Regions from separate parts of the Homo sapiens genome. Here regions 2 and 3 are each linked to region 1. The links are contacts of gene promoters, found by promoter capture Hi-C in blood cells and fetal thymus (Javierre and others, 2016). All regions are on one chromosome and are shown on one strand. The core of a region is centred on a gene start or on the middle of the fragment in contact, and the rest is flanking DNA. Distances in the headings are between cores, read along the strand shown.

Region 1 (4,596 bases), core at 1,437-3,936:
TGCCCTTGACAGAGATAGCACGAGATATCACTACCATTCCCACTTCACACGTGGAGGAAATCCAACGCGAGAACGCTCGGATTTCCCCTTCTTTACTTGCAACAACTCCGTAACCCGCAAATCGGCTACGGACAACTGCGATGTCCACTATGTTAGTTCTCGTAGCGTGGATTCTCTCTCCTCAAGATGCCATCTGGGGGGCTAGAGGCCACTAATAATTGCCCTCACGATCGAAGAAACTCGATCCTAATCCTCGACGGCACTTCAGGAACAAAGCTGCTCTCCCATCGTCCCTAACCTCACTACCGTAAAGGTCGCAGCAGAGCCCCTGCTCCAACCGCTAGCGCCATCTTGGCCGCTACGTGTGACGCCACACGTAGCAGAGAGCGCAGCCGATTGGCTGGGAGACGGCAGCCCAGGAGAGGCGCGCGAAGCCAGAGACAGGAGGGTATGCAGGAGAAACCAAGGGAACTACAATCCCGGCCTTCCTTGCGCGTACGACAGCAAACCTGGAGCGAAAGAGGTTGGAGTTTGGATTCGGACCACAACTCCCAGCACCCTCCGCGATGTCTGTCCTTTTCTTTCATAACGCGGAGGAAAAGAAGGACAAGATGAATGGAGGCCTTTTGGTGTTTGTTCTCCGAAAGGCGGGAAAAGCGAACTACACCTCCCGACTGGCCGCGCGCGGCTGCGCCTGCGCCCTGTTACCTGTCGCCATCTTGCCCCTTCAGAGGCACCGCAAACAAACCCAATTCCTGGTGTCCCCTAGTCTTGGCGGAGGAGCCTTTTAGATGAGCCCCGAAAGGCCGGGCAGGTGGGTGACTCTCAGGCAGGGTCCTGGGAAGAGCTGGCAGGCCAGCCAGGCTAGAGGAGCGCCGGGCCAAGCATTCGGAGCCCGGCTTGGGGCTCCCAGCCCCATCCTCCGTTGTTTCCTAACGGGATCGTGGGGCTCCCCGGGGTGGACTCAGGGGGACTCTGGCTGGCCTGGTGCTGGGACTCTGGGGGTTTAGCTCTGGGAGACTCCCGGTGAGTCCAGGTCGTCTGGCTGGGTATCCGCTGGCTTACTCTCTCTCGGTTGTCCTCTCCGCTGGGGAGGGAGTGAGGCGCGGGTGCCGGCCGGGACCCCTGACAACAGCTACTGGCCCAGAGGGGCTTGGGTCGTGGACTTGACATTGGGACCGGCGCCGAGAGGTCCGGGTGAGGAGCCTGGGCTGGCTGCTCTTGTTGTGGTGCTGCTAGGGAGTGCGTGTTTGGAGAGGGGGCGGGGCGGGCTTGTCTCCTTGACACTTGAGTGGGGAAGGATCCTACAAGATCCTGGTTCCCCGAGCGGGCTCCGGAAACTACTGCCCGGGTTTCCGATGCGTTGCGGCCCCGCTCTGGGGTCCCCTGGCTAGGACGCGCCGGGATGCCGTGACGTGGTGCTCGGTTCGAGCAGTCGCCGGCCGCCTCCAAGATCCTGTCGGGAGGCGGGGACTGGCTTGTGGAGGGAGAGGATTCCTTTGGCTCTGCCCCTTCTTCCTCCTCCCCACCCCTTTTCTTTATGTCATACTGCCGGCTGGGGCGCGCAGTCCAGTTCTTCTTGCCTTGGGTTTGTTCTGAGCTGAGAGGACTATGGGAAGTAGGGGGAGGGGGGCTCACCTCGGGACACAGAGTTGGAGTTAGCAGCCCCAGCGCCTGGAACGGGATATAGCAGTTATTTCGGTTCGGTGTCTGACTTCTAGGCTAGACAGTGAGCTCGTTCATTCATTCATTCATCCATTCGTTTTGCTCAGTCGCGTCAACCATTCACTTACCCATTTAACAAATACTTAGAGCGGCTCTACTCTGTGCTAAGCAGGTATTGCGCGTGCCCCCAGAGCCGTGTCTTTTTGTCTTTTACACTAGGAAATTCCCAGTTCTAAGTAAGTTCCTGGCAGCTCAACTGTTGGTAAATGGCTGTTTAATAACTACAGGATCAAAATTCATATTCCATTAAGACTTGAGAGAGTATATATATATGTGTGTGTGTGTATATATATATGTATATATATATGTGTATATATATATATGTATGTATCGTTCCAATTTTAGTATATGTGTTGCTGAAGCGAGCACGAGGAGTTATTTATTAAGTTTCTTTAACTTGCTAGGAGCTTTACAAATTTTATCTCATGTAATTCATAAATGAGGAAGCTGACAGGAGTCAACTTGCCCCAGGTTGGTAGTACCACCTGTTTATTAAATGAAATGCCAGCCACTATGAAAGAACTTTATATATAGTGTTCTTTAATACGCGTAACAAACTGGGTGGTATTACCTCTGTTTTATAGATGTGTAAAGCTTAGGCTTAACCAGTAAGTTGAAAAGTTGGGACTAGAAACCTAGAGGTGTCTGGCTCTAAAGCCTGTGTTCTTTCCACTGTGATAGTTCAAATGACTTAATTCTTGATTTCTCAAAAGTTGGAAAGTGTGGTGGTGAGAAAGGATTGTAAAATAGTAATATCTTTTTGGTTTACTTCTTAGCCTGTGACTGGATCTCCAGGTGAGTGGCCCCTTGAATGTACTTTGGTACTTTGGTAATTTGACTTTTTTTTTTTGTTCTGGTAGGGAGGACAAGCTCTTTGGGGCTACCAAACAGAAGCAGCAATGCCTGTTGTGTGGCCAACCCTTCTGGATCTCAGCAGGGATGAATGCAAAAGAATTCTTCGAAAATTGGGTATGACGTTCATTGTTTGTTTTTTACCTCTCTCTGATACCTTTTTTCCCTTTCTGCCTAGGTCATAGCTGTTTGCATGGATGTCATATCTCACGCTACATCAGAAATTCTTTGGAGATACAGTTCCCATCTTACTCATTGTTGTTTCCCTCAGTGCCTAACATAGTGCTTTGTAAATAGTAGGTGTGTGAATTGTAATAATACTAGTAGCTAAGATTTATTGAGGGCTACTTGGCTATTCTGAGTCTTTTTTATACAACATCTAATTTAAATATTTTAAGAATTAGCTTTGTCCTTTGAAAGCCTAAAAGGTAGGTGTTTTTTGTTTGTTTGTTTTGTCTCGTCTCCATTTTACAGATGAAGCTTAGAAGCCAAGGTAATGGTGATAGACATGGAGTCAGTATTTGAACCAGGGAGTATGCTTTCAGTCTCACTTTAACATACTCTTAACCTTCATGATTGTATGTGTCAATTACATACTATTTCTGAATTCTAAGTTGATGTAAGCCATGCTCACTTTTTCAAATTATATTTTACTATCAATAATAAAACACATTTTATGCTTGTAATTTATTATTTAGTGTTTCTTTTCCCTTACAGCAGCCTTTCTCAACCAGCATTGAGGGAAAGAATTAAACCCTAATGCTAAGGTATCCATTGTATGTAAAGAACTAACTTCGCCCTGTGCATCTAGAGTGCTATTAGTTATTACTTTCCTTGGGAAAATTGAGAAAAAGAGTTATTACTCAAATCATTTTGTGTTCTGTAGTTCAAATGAGGATCTTTGGTTGAGAAATGCTGCCTTAGACTATGAGGACCTTGTCTTATTTACCACTGTAGTCTCTGGCTAGCACAATAAATGAAATAATTGAAAAAAATAATTTGAAAAAGAAGATTAAATGTTTTGGCAGTGGATATGCATTATTTAGATATCTGTGATTTTAAAGGAAAAGTATAGGTCTTGAATTTAGACAGACCTGGGGTCTTGGTATTATTACAAATGACCCATGTGACCAAGGACAAGTTATTTATTCTTCCTAAATTTGTTGATAGTTTTGTTAAAACAAAAAAAAAGAGGATAACACTCTCTGCCTCATTAGTTTGTTACGTGTGTTAACAGTATACATAAAGGGCCCGTCATAGTAAATCTTTGTTGGGAATTTTTCTTTGTAAATCAGATAGAATCATAGCTGCTCTGGCCCTGCCTGTCCTTTTTATTCCACCCAAGGCCACTATGAGGATTTCAAATCACTTTTTAGCAGCATCTTTTAAAGCAAGTCTAAGAGAGTTGTTTTTGGAGAGGGTGTGGGGGATGTCAATCTTTTTTTTTTTTAACCAAACTTTTAGTCCTAATCTGAAGATAGTTTTCTACACTTGCATACAATTAATATAACTTGTTAGTTGCCGATTATAAAGTTGGACTCATATTTATTTGATAGCTGAAATTGCAGAACATATCACAAAGACAGTAGATTGAATTGGGGTTTCTGGGCTTGGGGGCCTTTGAATTGAGAGATTATGTTTAAATATAAAAATGGTAACCTTTAAGTCTAAATTTATTCCTAATTTAATCAGAGCTGTGTGGGTAATGTTGCTGCAGAGTGCTTCTATATAAAAGAAAACAGTCATCTCGTATGGTAATATCATCTTCATTGACCCCTCATATTGGGAGGTGAGCTTTGATAGTGATTTGCCAAAGACTTCCTCCCCACCCGTTGGCTTATTATCATAACAATGAAACCTTTGAATTGTCTTCACATGCTAACTCTAGGTCCAAAGTTTAGAAAAGGTACATACAGTTTTTAAAAATTAGCTGTATCCTTTAAAAAATAGTTATAAATCATTTTAATATAAGATGTTAAATACTTAGATTTTACATACATATAAAGAAATTGGGATAGA
Region 2 (4,596 bases), core at 562-3,061, 240 kb before region 1:
CTTTGCAGTGGGGACAGAGGACATGGACGTCAGGTTTAGCCAGCCGTCCATCCCACCACAGGCCAGCGTGGGGGCTTGCGTGCATCATGCCCTTTGCAGGGTCTCGGTGTTCCCACTGTGGAGCAGGGATGATGGCAGTGACCCCACAGGACTCTTATGGGCGGCAAATGACACCCAAGCCCACTGCAAGGCCTCTGACGCTCCTTCAGCCAATCCTCTCCTTCCCTGGACCTTAGTATCCTTATCTGTAAAATGGTGGCGGTGGATGAGAGAGCTTGGACTCGCTGATCGGAGGTCCCTGCCAGCTGGAACAGTGCTGGGTACCCCATTGCAAAAGGAAGGTGGCTGGTTTCTCACAGAACTCCTCAGGGACAGCTGGGAAAAGCTAGTGCCCAGGGCTGGGAGATTGCTGAGACCAGGCTTCTTGTAAACAAGAAAGGCAGGAAGACGGGGTTCCCTCCTCGAATCGTCAATTAATCAATAACTTGGCCTGAGAAGGGGCAGGGCCAGTGACCTCCAGACTGTTTGCTGGCGGCGCAGCCACTATCACCCTGTCTTCCAACTAATTCACAAACCCTTTGCAGCGCCCTCCCCAGCCCCCACAACCTGCCCCCTGCTGTCTTATCTGCAGGCTCCCTGCCCTGGCCCCAGATTCCAGACCCTTGTCCTGTCCTGGACTTTCCCTCTCAGGGAGCCCCTCTGCCCACAGCGTCCTCTCCATTGCCCGAACCAGCCAACTCCCAGCAGCGCTTCAGTCACCAGAGGCACAGCCTCGGAAAAGCTTCCCGGTGTCTCACATCTGTGTCCCCACCAGGTGGGCTTCCTTCCTCTAGGCCTCCAGATTCCCGCTCTGGTTTCTCCTCGGGCACTTGGACACTTGTGGAGTTATTTACAGCCTGGGCTTATCTCTCTCAACTTAGAGCGCAGCTCCTCCGGGAAGGGGCTGGTGTTTACTCCTCTCTTCACCACCCCCAGCCCCCTGAGCAGGCACTCCCTTCAGCTCGGCACCAAGCCTCTCTCTCCCTCCTACCCCTGCGTGAATAATTTCTATCTAAAGGAATGCCCTGCACATGTGCACAGTGGCATCTGACAGCTTCTGAGGTCCTTTCAGGAGCCTCTTCTCATCTGATTTGAGGGAGGTGGGGAGTCTCACCCTCCCGTGACAGAGGAGGACAAGGAGGCCCCAAGAAGTAGAGTGACACTTTCCCAAGGTCGCCCAGGTGGAGGGGTCAGGAGTGTCTCAGCGGAACTCCCGCTAGGGTCAAGGAGACTGACGGACAAGGACCGCTCCTGGGCTGGCCGCTCTGGATTGCGCCCCCTGAACAGAATGTCTTTTTCCATCTGCCCCTGCGGAGGTGGCCAGAAACTCCGTGGCCCTTGCGCCACCGTCAGCTGCACAGGACCAGGCGCTTCCATTGTGGTCCACGCCCGTCTCACTCCCTTTTCGCAAGCCTGCGGGAGGCAGGGACATTTTACAGAGGAGGAAACAGAGGCTGAGGGATGACTTGCCCACGACCGCCAAGCCAGCTTAGGCTCCCGGGTCTTGGTGCGCTCGCCCCATCCAGGGGACCCCAAAACGCCCTCCGCCGCCCCAGTCCCTGGCCTGTGCGCGTGGACGCGGGGTCCCTACTCACAGCCACTTGATGCCATAGCACACGCCGGTCTGGAGCGCCAGGGCGAAGAGCAGCGCCTCGCAGACCTGCGGCCGCGCCCTCATCGTCGCGCGGCGGGCGCGCCCGGGGTCACACCCAGGAGGAGCCGCGCCGAAGTCCTCCGCCTGCACGGCCGCCGCTGGTCCTGCACGCCGCCTGCAGCCGGGGAGAGCGGAGGCGGCGGGTTAAGGCGGCGCGCGGGCGGGGGAGGCGTTTTATTCAAATTACAAAGGAGGGGTCGGGGCCCGGGGAGGCCGAGCGCGGCGGGCGTCCCCTCCCGCTCCGCCCGGCCGGGGGACGCGTCCCGCGCCTGGCTCGAATTAGGCGCGGCCGAAGGCGTGTCTCCCAGCGTGGCCCCGGGCCCCAACGCGCCTTCGAGCCCCTCTGGCCGGGGCAGCCGGAAGGAGGGACAGGAGGCGGCAGAACCGGAGACCCAGGAGAGACCGGGCAGACACAGCGAGAGGGAGAAGGACGCTCAGAGGACAAGGCTGAGAGCCACGGAGACAGAGGGGGAAACCCGGACAGACGCAACCTGGGACGGAAAGGAGAGGAATGAGGAATCAGGAGTCCAGGCGAGGCAGCAGAGTCGAGGACCCGGAGCTGGGGCTTATCCCTGCAATATTGAGCATTAGTTAATAGGGCCTCGGCAATTCTCCTTCCCAAACGTGTTTCAGTTTACCTCCTCAGTAAGCTGGGGCAATTCGGGCACAATTCCGCTTTTATAAAGAACGTTCCCTGGCCGGGCAGGGTGGCTCACGCCTGTAATCCCAGCACTTTGGGAGGTCGAGGCGGGCGGGTCACCTGAGGTCAGGAGCTCGAGACCAGCCTGCCCAACATGGCAAAACCCCGTCTCTACTACGAATACAAAAAATTAGCCGGGCGTGGTGGCGGGCGCCTGTAATCCCAGCTACTCGGGAGGCTGAGGCAGGAGAACCGCTTGAACCCGGGAGGCGGAGGTTGCAGCGAGCGGAGATTGCGCCACTGCACTCTAGCCTGGGCGACAAGAGCGAAACTCCGTCTCAAACAAACAGACAAACAAAAAAAGTTCCCTAACACGATCGCATCTGCTCCTCCCAGCACCCCGTGAGATAGGCACTATCGCTGCCTCATCTCACAGATGAGGAAACTGAGGCACAGAGGTGGGGTTCAGCTAGGGAGCGGCAAGCCGGGTGTCCGGCGAAATCAGGAAATGGGGCTTGCTCGGGGCCCTGCTTTCTCGGTGTGGGAAGGGGAGGATGGGAAACGGGATGGTAGGGCTCTTTGTACAGTGAGGATTCCGAGTCTCCAAGTCCGTCTTTAGCCGCTCCACTTTGGAGGGTGGGAGTGGAAGCATGCGGGCTGGGACTGGGCAGCCCCGCCTTAGCGAAGCGGGGAAGCTCGCGGGGCTGGCGCGGTGTTGCCTCTGGCCTCCAGGCGGCGCCCTCGGGCCGCGGAGGAGAGGCTGCCCCGCCCGCCCGCAGCCCGCGGAGCAGCTATCTCCGCTTTTTTTCTCCTTCACTTCATTCTCACCTCATTAACTCCCTTCCCAGCTTCTCCCAAATTTACCAACACCTGGCGTTCGCCCGGAGTCAGACACAGCCCCAGCCCCTCTCCCCTCGGGAGGAGCAGAGACAAAGGGATTCCTTTCTAAGGGTTTGGGGAGTTGGAAAAGGAGGCGCCCACGGTAGTGGGGGCGCTGGAGCAGAAAAGGGACGTTCTTATCTGGCTCTGTGAGCTTGGGCAAGCCCTCAGCCACCCCAGCCTCGGTGTCCCCTTCCATAAGAACGAGGAATGGGGCTTCGCCGTGCGTCCCCCGAGGACCCCGTCTCCCTGCAGCCTGCGGGGCTCAGCGCCCCTCTGCTATTTGCACCGCGACGCCACCTGCGTGGCGCGTTCCTGCGCGTGGGTAGTCAGCACGCAGAGATGGGAAGCCCCACTGTTTTCTGGAGCCTGTCGGCAAAACCCACAGGAAGGCGAGGAGAAGCCTGGATCGTACAGTTTTTTTCCTCCGCAGAGCCCCGCAGCTAGCGCCCAGCACAGGGGCGCCTGCGACAAACATGCCGTCAAGGCTGGGGGTCTCAGAGGGGTTCTCGGTGTAACCCAGTCCCGTCCTCCCACCCAGCCTGTATCCAAATCCTTTGTCTTCCTGGTCCTGCAAGTTTCTTGCACTTCTCAGAACGAGAAAAATATCCGCTGGATATGGAGGGGGGAATCAAAACTCCAGTCACCGTCTTCCCCTCTCCCAAAGTGCGCCGCCCCCCGAAGGCACCCGGCATTCCTGGGTGGGGAGGGGGCGGGGGCTGCAAGAGGACGGAGGCGCGCGGACTCACAGCGGGGGATCTGTGTCCAGCCTGGTCTCCCAGGGAGAGGAGGAGCCCCCTAGGTCGCACAGCGGACGGGGACCCAGGCCTCCAGCCCCGCCCAGCTCTTTCGGTGCAGCCCCGGCTGTCCCAAGGCTCTCCCTCCGCCGCCCAAGCTCGTCGCGCGGGGAGGCAGCGCCTGGCCCGAGCCTCTGGGTCCTGACGGACTGTTCCTGTCCCTTGTACGAGCGCCCGGGACAGCCGCGCAGGCCACGGGGTCACCTTCCGCCTGAGCTCGCGGGTCAGGGTGCACGCGCCTCCTGAAGCCCCCAGCCCGCCAGGGGGCGCTAAGCCGGGGCTCGAGGAGGGGGGAATCGCGGCTGCCTCCTGCGTCGCGGGCTGGGGTCAAGTCCTCTTCCTGGGCCCCCGCTTCTCCGTCTGGGGATGGGACGACGTGTCGAGGGAGTGCCCCCTGTGTCCTGGTCGTTCTATAGGACACTTGCCGTGGGCCGCCCTGACCTGCCCGGCCCCTTGCTTGGGGCCGGGCGCGTAGTGGGCCGCGCCAGGCGTAGCACCTTTGGAGAGCGAGCGGTCACCTCCTCGAAGTTGGTCCGAGCTACCCTGCCTGCAGCGGGCCCGGGAGGCGGCCGCCTGGGGCTGTGCAC
Region 3 (4,596 bases), core at 1,068-3,567, 220 kb after region 1:
AAAATCTCCAAGAAAATCCAGGCTATCCACAGTCTCCTCTCTGACTCTTGCCCATTTTCCCTTCCCTCACCACATTCCAGCTTTCCTGCTGTTCCTTCAACACAGCAAATTCATTCCTGCCACAGGGCCTTTGCTCCTGCAGTTTCCTCTCCCTGAATGCTCTTCCTCAGCTCCTCACACATGTCATTGTTTTCCCACATTTATCATTTCCTCATCATTTATTTCTTATCATGTGGGAACAGGGGCCTACTAAGTAGGTACTCACTAAAGACTAGTGAACAAGTGGCAAAATCAGGGCAGAAGCTCAGCTGCAGTGGACTGAGTGGTGAGTGCCAGGTGAGGACAAGGAAGGGTCCTAGGCCCTTATTTCCCCTTCCTCTGCCAAACCCCACTCTATCCCCAAGGTGGCCCTGTGCACATCCAGAAGGGATCGTCCCTGCAGCACATGGGCACTCTGTCCTGGCATCTGACGGGAAGGGCCCCTCAGCTGTGGGCCCTCCTCAGTGGTGCCCAAGTACAGGGTGTAGCATTTAAAGACTACTCTCTCTCAAAAAGGAGGACGGTGTCACTTAGACCCAGGCTTGCATCCAAAGCCCACCACTCACCAGCTCTGCTCCCTAAGGTAAGTCCCTTCCTTTCTTGGTGCCCCAGTGTCCTGTCTGCAGGGTAGGCAGCTGGGTTCCAGTTCTGCCACTGGCCAACCCCAACTATTGTGATGATCAGGCAAAGAATGGTGGCGAAGGTGCCCTGCATCCTCACTGTCCTTCCCAGCTGACACAGTGACCCTCGCAGGGCTGAGCATCCCAGGTGAGGTGTGCTCAGTGGGGAGGCCCCAAGCCTGCAGACAAGTGGCCTGGGCAAGAGGAGGCAGGAGAGTCGGACTCTCAGGAGTCCAACTCAGAAAAGTGCCAAAGAATGTGTGTGTGTGTGTGTGTGTGTGTGTGTGTGTGTGTGTGTGAGAGAGAGAGAGAGAGTGAGAGAGAAAGAGCAGGGGTACGGGGGGCAATGACTACTACCACAATAAGCCCACCCCTACATTTAAGGATGTTAGTCTTCTAAGCACTTGACCTATATCATCTCATTTAATTCTCACAATCACCTATTGAGGAAATTACTGTAATTCCCATTTTACGGATGAGAAAACAGTTTCCGGAAAGTGAAGTGACTTACCCCCAGAGTTACCCAGCTCATAAGGGCTTTGGAGCTGGGATTTATCCAGTTCTACATGACCTGAATACTGTGTTTTCTCCAGCACATGCTGAGCCGACTGCCCCCAATAGAACTGTCTTTTTTTTGCCCATGAAGAAAAGGAGGCTCAGAGAAGTGACTTACCCAAAGTCACACAAGGAGAAAATAGCAGGGTCACGATCAGAATCCAGTTCATCTGTCTCCAAAGCAAATGTTCCCACTATACCAAATCAAGGTCTCCTTCCCTAAGCCCTGCCAACGACCCCTCACACGCAGGAGCAGGGCAGACTAGCTCACAGTCTGGCCTCTGAGGTCCTCTCTCCCTCCTCTCGGCCTCAGCTGACTTACTGGCAGAGTGGGGTCCTGGGAGAGCTGCTGCGGACGTTCCTGTCAAGCAGTGAATCACTAAGGGCAAGCCTCGTTCTGGAGACATGTGCATCCCACGGGGGAATTAGACCTTAACCCAAAGGAATGTGGCTGTGATGGCGGAATTTCAGGCAGCTCGGCGTGGGGGTGGGGGCCCCTCACATCTTACCACCCATGAAGAAGGCTGGGTTCAGAGCCCCTTGGAGAGCGGTGGGTGCCCCCTACCCCACTACGAGAAATGGGCAGGCCATCTAGTGCTGTGGGATGGGCAGCCCCACGCCTGGCTGGGATCGGAGCGTTGCAGGAAACCTGAATTCAAATTCCGGTTTGCCCTTGCCTAGCTGTGTGTTCCTGGGCAAGTCACGGTCTTCAGGCCATTGTTTTCCCAGCTGTCAAATGGGAAGGCCGGCCTCACCCCTTTGCGGGAAAGATCCGCCAAGACAGGAGCGCTGGGGAACTCCCAGGGACCGAGGGAGGGTCAGCCCCGGCTCCACGCGCGCAGTGGGGATGGCGGGAGGGGAGTGTTTGGGGGGCGTCCCTTGGGACCAGCCCCCGCCTTGCGCTCGCTAGAGGCGCGCGACAGTGCGCCCCCCGAGGGCCGGCCAGCCTCGCCTGCCCGGCGGCTCCTACCTGGCTCAGCGCGGCCGCAGCTCCTCTCCCGGGCAGTCTCGGCACATTTTGCGCAAACCCGCCCCCGGGTCCCACCCCGCGCCAGACCCCGGGGTCACGGCCCGAGGAGGAGCAGGCCGCTCAGCTGCCCCACCGGAGCCCCCGCGCTCCGGCTGCAATTTAAATACCTCTCCCGCCGGCCCGCCCCGCCACGCCCCCCTCTGGCGAGGCCGTGGGGTCCTAGCGCCTGGCCCCGTGCCTCGGTTTATCCGGAGCCGGCGGGGGCGGAGTGGGGTGGGGCGGCGAAGCATCTTCACCACCCTGGGACCTCGGCCGGGAAGGGGCGGGGGCCCAGTGTGGGGGGATGAGAGGGCGGGAGGGAGAGGGGTTGCAGAGGAAGCGCCGTGGGAGCGAGGCCCATCCCAGCGGCCGCCGCACGTGCAGTTCGCGGCCCCGCGGGGTCCGGAGGGGGGCGCGGTGGCTCTAGGAGCCGCAGGTCCACAGAGGAAATCCGGCCTGGCCCCGATTTCCCAGCTGCTGGCGCCGCCGCACTTAACGCGGGGGCAAACAGGCGAGGTGACGGCGGGGCTGAATGCGGAAGGAAATGACCCTTCGCTGGCCCTGGGGCGGCCGCGGAGGGGGTTCCCCGCACCAAGCCGTCCACTCTGGTGGGTCCTGGCAGGTCACTTTTCCTCTCCGGATTGTGCTCTAGTGTCTGGACCCGTACTCCTCCATCATCTGCGGGACCCTTCAACAGCCTGTGAAACGGCACCATCAAAGTCCTGTTTTCGGATGGAGAAGCTGAGGCTAGGGGTGGGGGCAGTGTGTACACATGAAAACCAATTGTCTGAGACTAGTAAGGTCCCTATTTATAGCTGGGGAACCTGAGGCTCAGAAAAGGTTAAATGGCGTGTCCAAAGTCAACACAGCTAATAAGAATCAGTGATTTGAGCCCAATCTGTTCATAAAGCTAAGTCTGATTCAGTTTGGGCATTATCTTGCCCGAATTTTTAAAGTACTGTGCAAATATGGGGTGGCGGTATTGTCATTTAGATTGGAGGTTGAAGCAGATCTTTCCCAAAGCCACCTCTCTTCTAGATGCCTTGACCCTACCAAATCACAGGTACCCTGCCTTGCTGCCTGTGGACTCTAGTATGCGGGTCCCTAGAAGAGAGGGGCCCTGGCTGTCCTCCAGGTCCTGGTTCCAAGTGTAGAAGGGGCCTCTTCCACAGTGTTTCTCTTCCCTGATCGTCACCAGCCCTGAGAGTGGGGCAGGGTGCCCCATTTTACATGCATGAAAGTGACCACCCAGGGCCTTGTGGCAAATCAGGGTAAGGCTGGGCTCAGAAGCGGGATTCCCTGAAGTCTCTACAGTTACTGCCTTTTCTTACCCCTGTTCAGTCCACTGTGGAGATGGATCTGGGGAGATGGGGTCAACCCAGAGAGGACAAGCCATGATAGCAGGTGCCATAGGGGCCTGACCTAGTCTTAGAAGAGGAAATCAGGGAAGGCTTCCCTAAGGAGGAGGCCTGAGCTGCAGTGAGGGGATGGGCAGGAGGTGCAGGTAAGGAATCTCTCAGCAGGGCCTGCGAAGGGTATCCAAACCTCTTTCCCTTCCCTCCCAGCCACCCAAGGCCTCAGATCTATGTCCACAGGGTCCTAGCTGGTCCATCCAGCCCCCTCTCTGGTCTCTAGTGCTCCATTTGGTCAAATGGAACCTCAGTGCCCCTATCTGTAAAGTGGGAAAGATAGTAGCTACTACTTGGAGTTGGTGCTAGAACTAAGTGCAATGGATCCAGCTGGAGCCTGCACCCAGTGGTTGTTAGGCAACTTCTCACTGCCTTTATTGTGGCAGTTGGTGGATACTCCTATATCCTGTGGGCTTCCTTTTCCAGGTCCCTGTCCAAGGGGCCAAATGTTCAGGAAAGTGCTTTGAAGCTGCCCTGCAGTATGAGCAGAGTGACTGGATCATTCGGGCAGTTCCTGGCCTTGTGTATCAGACCAGCTCCCAGCCATCCAGACCCAGGCTCGCTGAGCACTGCCTCACCCTTCCCGGAGCTGCTACCAAGCAGAAATCACTGGGCCATGGCAGAGCTTCTGCTAGGGCCCAGGAGGGCGGGGCTGGGGCTATGGTGGGCTGGGGGTGAGTGCCCCACCTCCCACTCCCCCGCCCCCAGAGGCTGTGGTTGTGGTTAGTCAGCTCGTGGGGTTCCACCTTACTCAGTGCCCGGATGGGGCTCCCCCACATTTGAGGCAGATGGGCAACCAAGCGTGCCCACCTGCTGCAGATGCCTCTGGGGACCAGGGGCTAAAAGCCGGGAAGCCCACAGGCTCAGCGCCCCTTCCTTCATCTCTTCACTTCTTTGGCAGTCATGTTGTTGTGTGACTTTTGGCAGGTTGCTCAGCCTTCCTGACCTTGGTTTGCTGACCTGC

The links. The method cuts DNA at HindIII sites, captures the fragments that hold promoters and counts their contacts. A CHiCAGO score of 5 or more calls a contact.
Region 2: the fragment with the promoter of WNT11 here is called in contact with a fragment that was not itself captured in region 1 in 1 of 17 cell types (megakaryocytes); the score reaches 6.9 in megakaryocytes.
Region 3: the fragment with the promoter of LRRC32 here is called in contact with a fragment that was not itself captured in region 1 in 1 of 17 cell types (naive B cells); the score reaches 5.5 in naive B cells.

What each region holds. Positions count from the first base shown.
Region 1 is chr11:76,444,315-76,448,910 of GRCh38, forward strand. EMSY (EMSY transcriptional repressor, BRCA2 interacting) reads left to right here and starts at 704. Exons shown (of 22, transcript NM_001300942.2): 1 at 704-814; 2 at 2,586-2,694. The coding sequence starts at 2,625. EMSY-DT (EMSY divergent transcript) reads right to left here and starts at 366. Exons shown (of 2, transcript NR_186348.1): 1 at 1-366. RefSeq lists enhancers at 1-344, 345-981, 682-911, 1,112-1,161, 1,411-1,705 and 1 more. The HindIII fragment of the contact is 738 bases long and covers 2,318-3,055 here.
Region 2 is chr11:76,204,691-76,209,286 of GRCh38, forward strand. WNT11 (Wnt family member 11) reads right to left here and starts at 1,812. Exons shown (of 5, transcript NM_004626.3): 1 at 1,635-1,812. The coding sequence starts at 1,717. RefSeq lists silencers at 1,725-1,964, 2,945-3,164 and enhancers at 2,269-2,936, 4,271-4,596, 4,556-4,596. The HindIII fragment of the contact is 7,460 bases long and covers 780-4,596 here.
Region 3 is chr11:76,668,430-76,673,025 of GRCh38, forward strand. LRRC32 (leucine rich repeat containing 32) reads right to left here and starts at 2,318. Exons shown (of 3, transcript NM_001128922.2): 1 at 2,185-2,318. RefSeq lists silencers at 2,073-2,202, 2,263-2,462, 4,195-4,434. The HindIII fragment of the contact is 10,336 bases long and covers 1-4,596 here.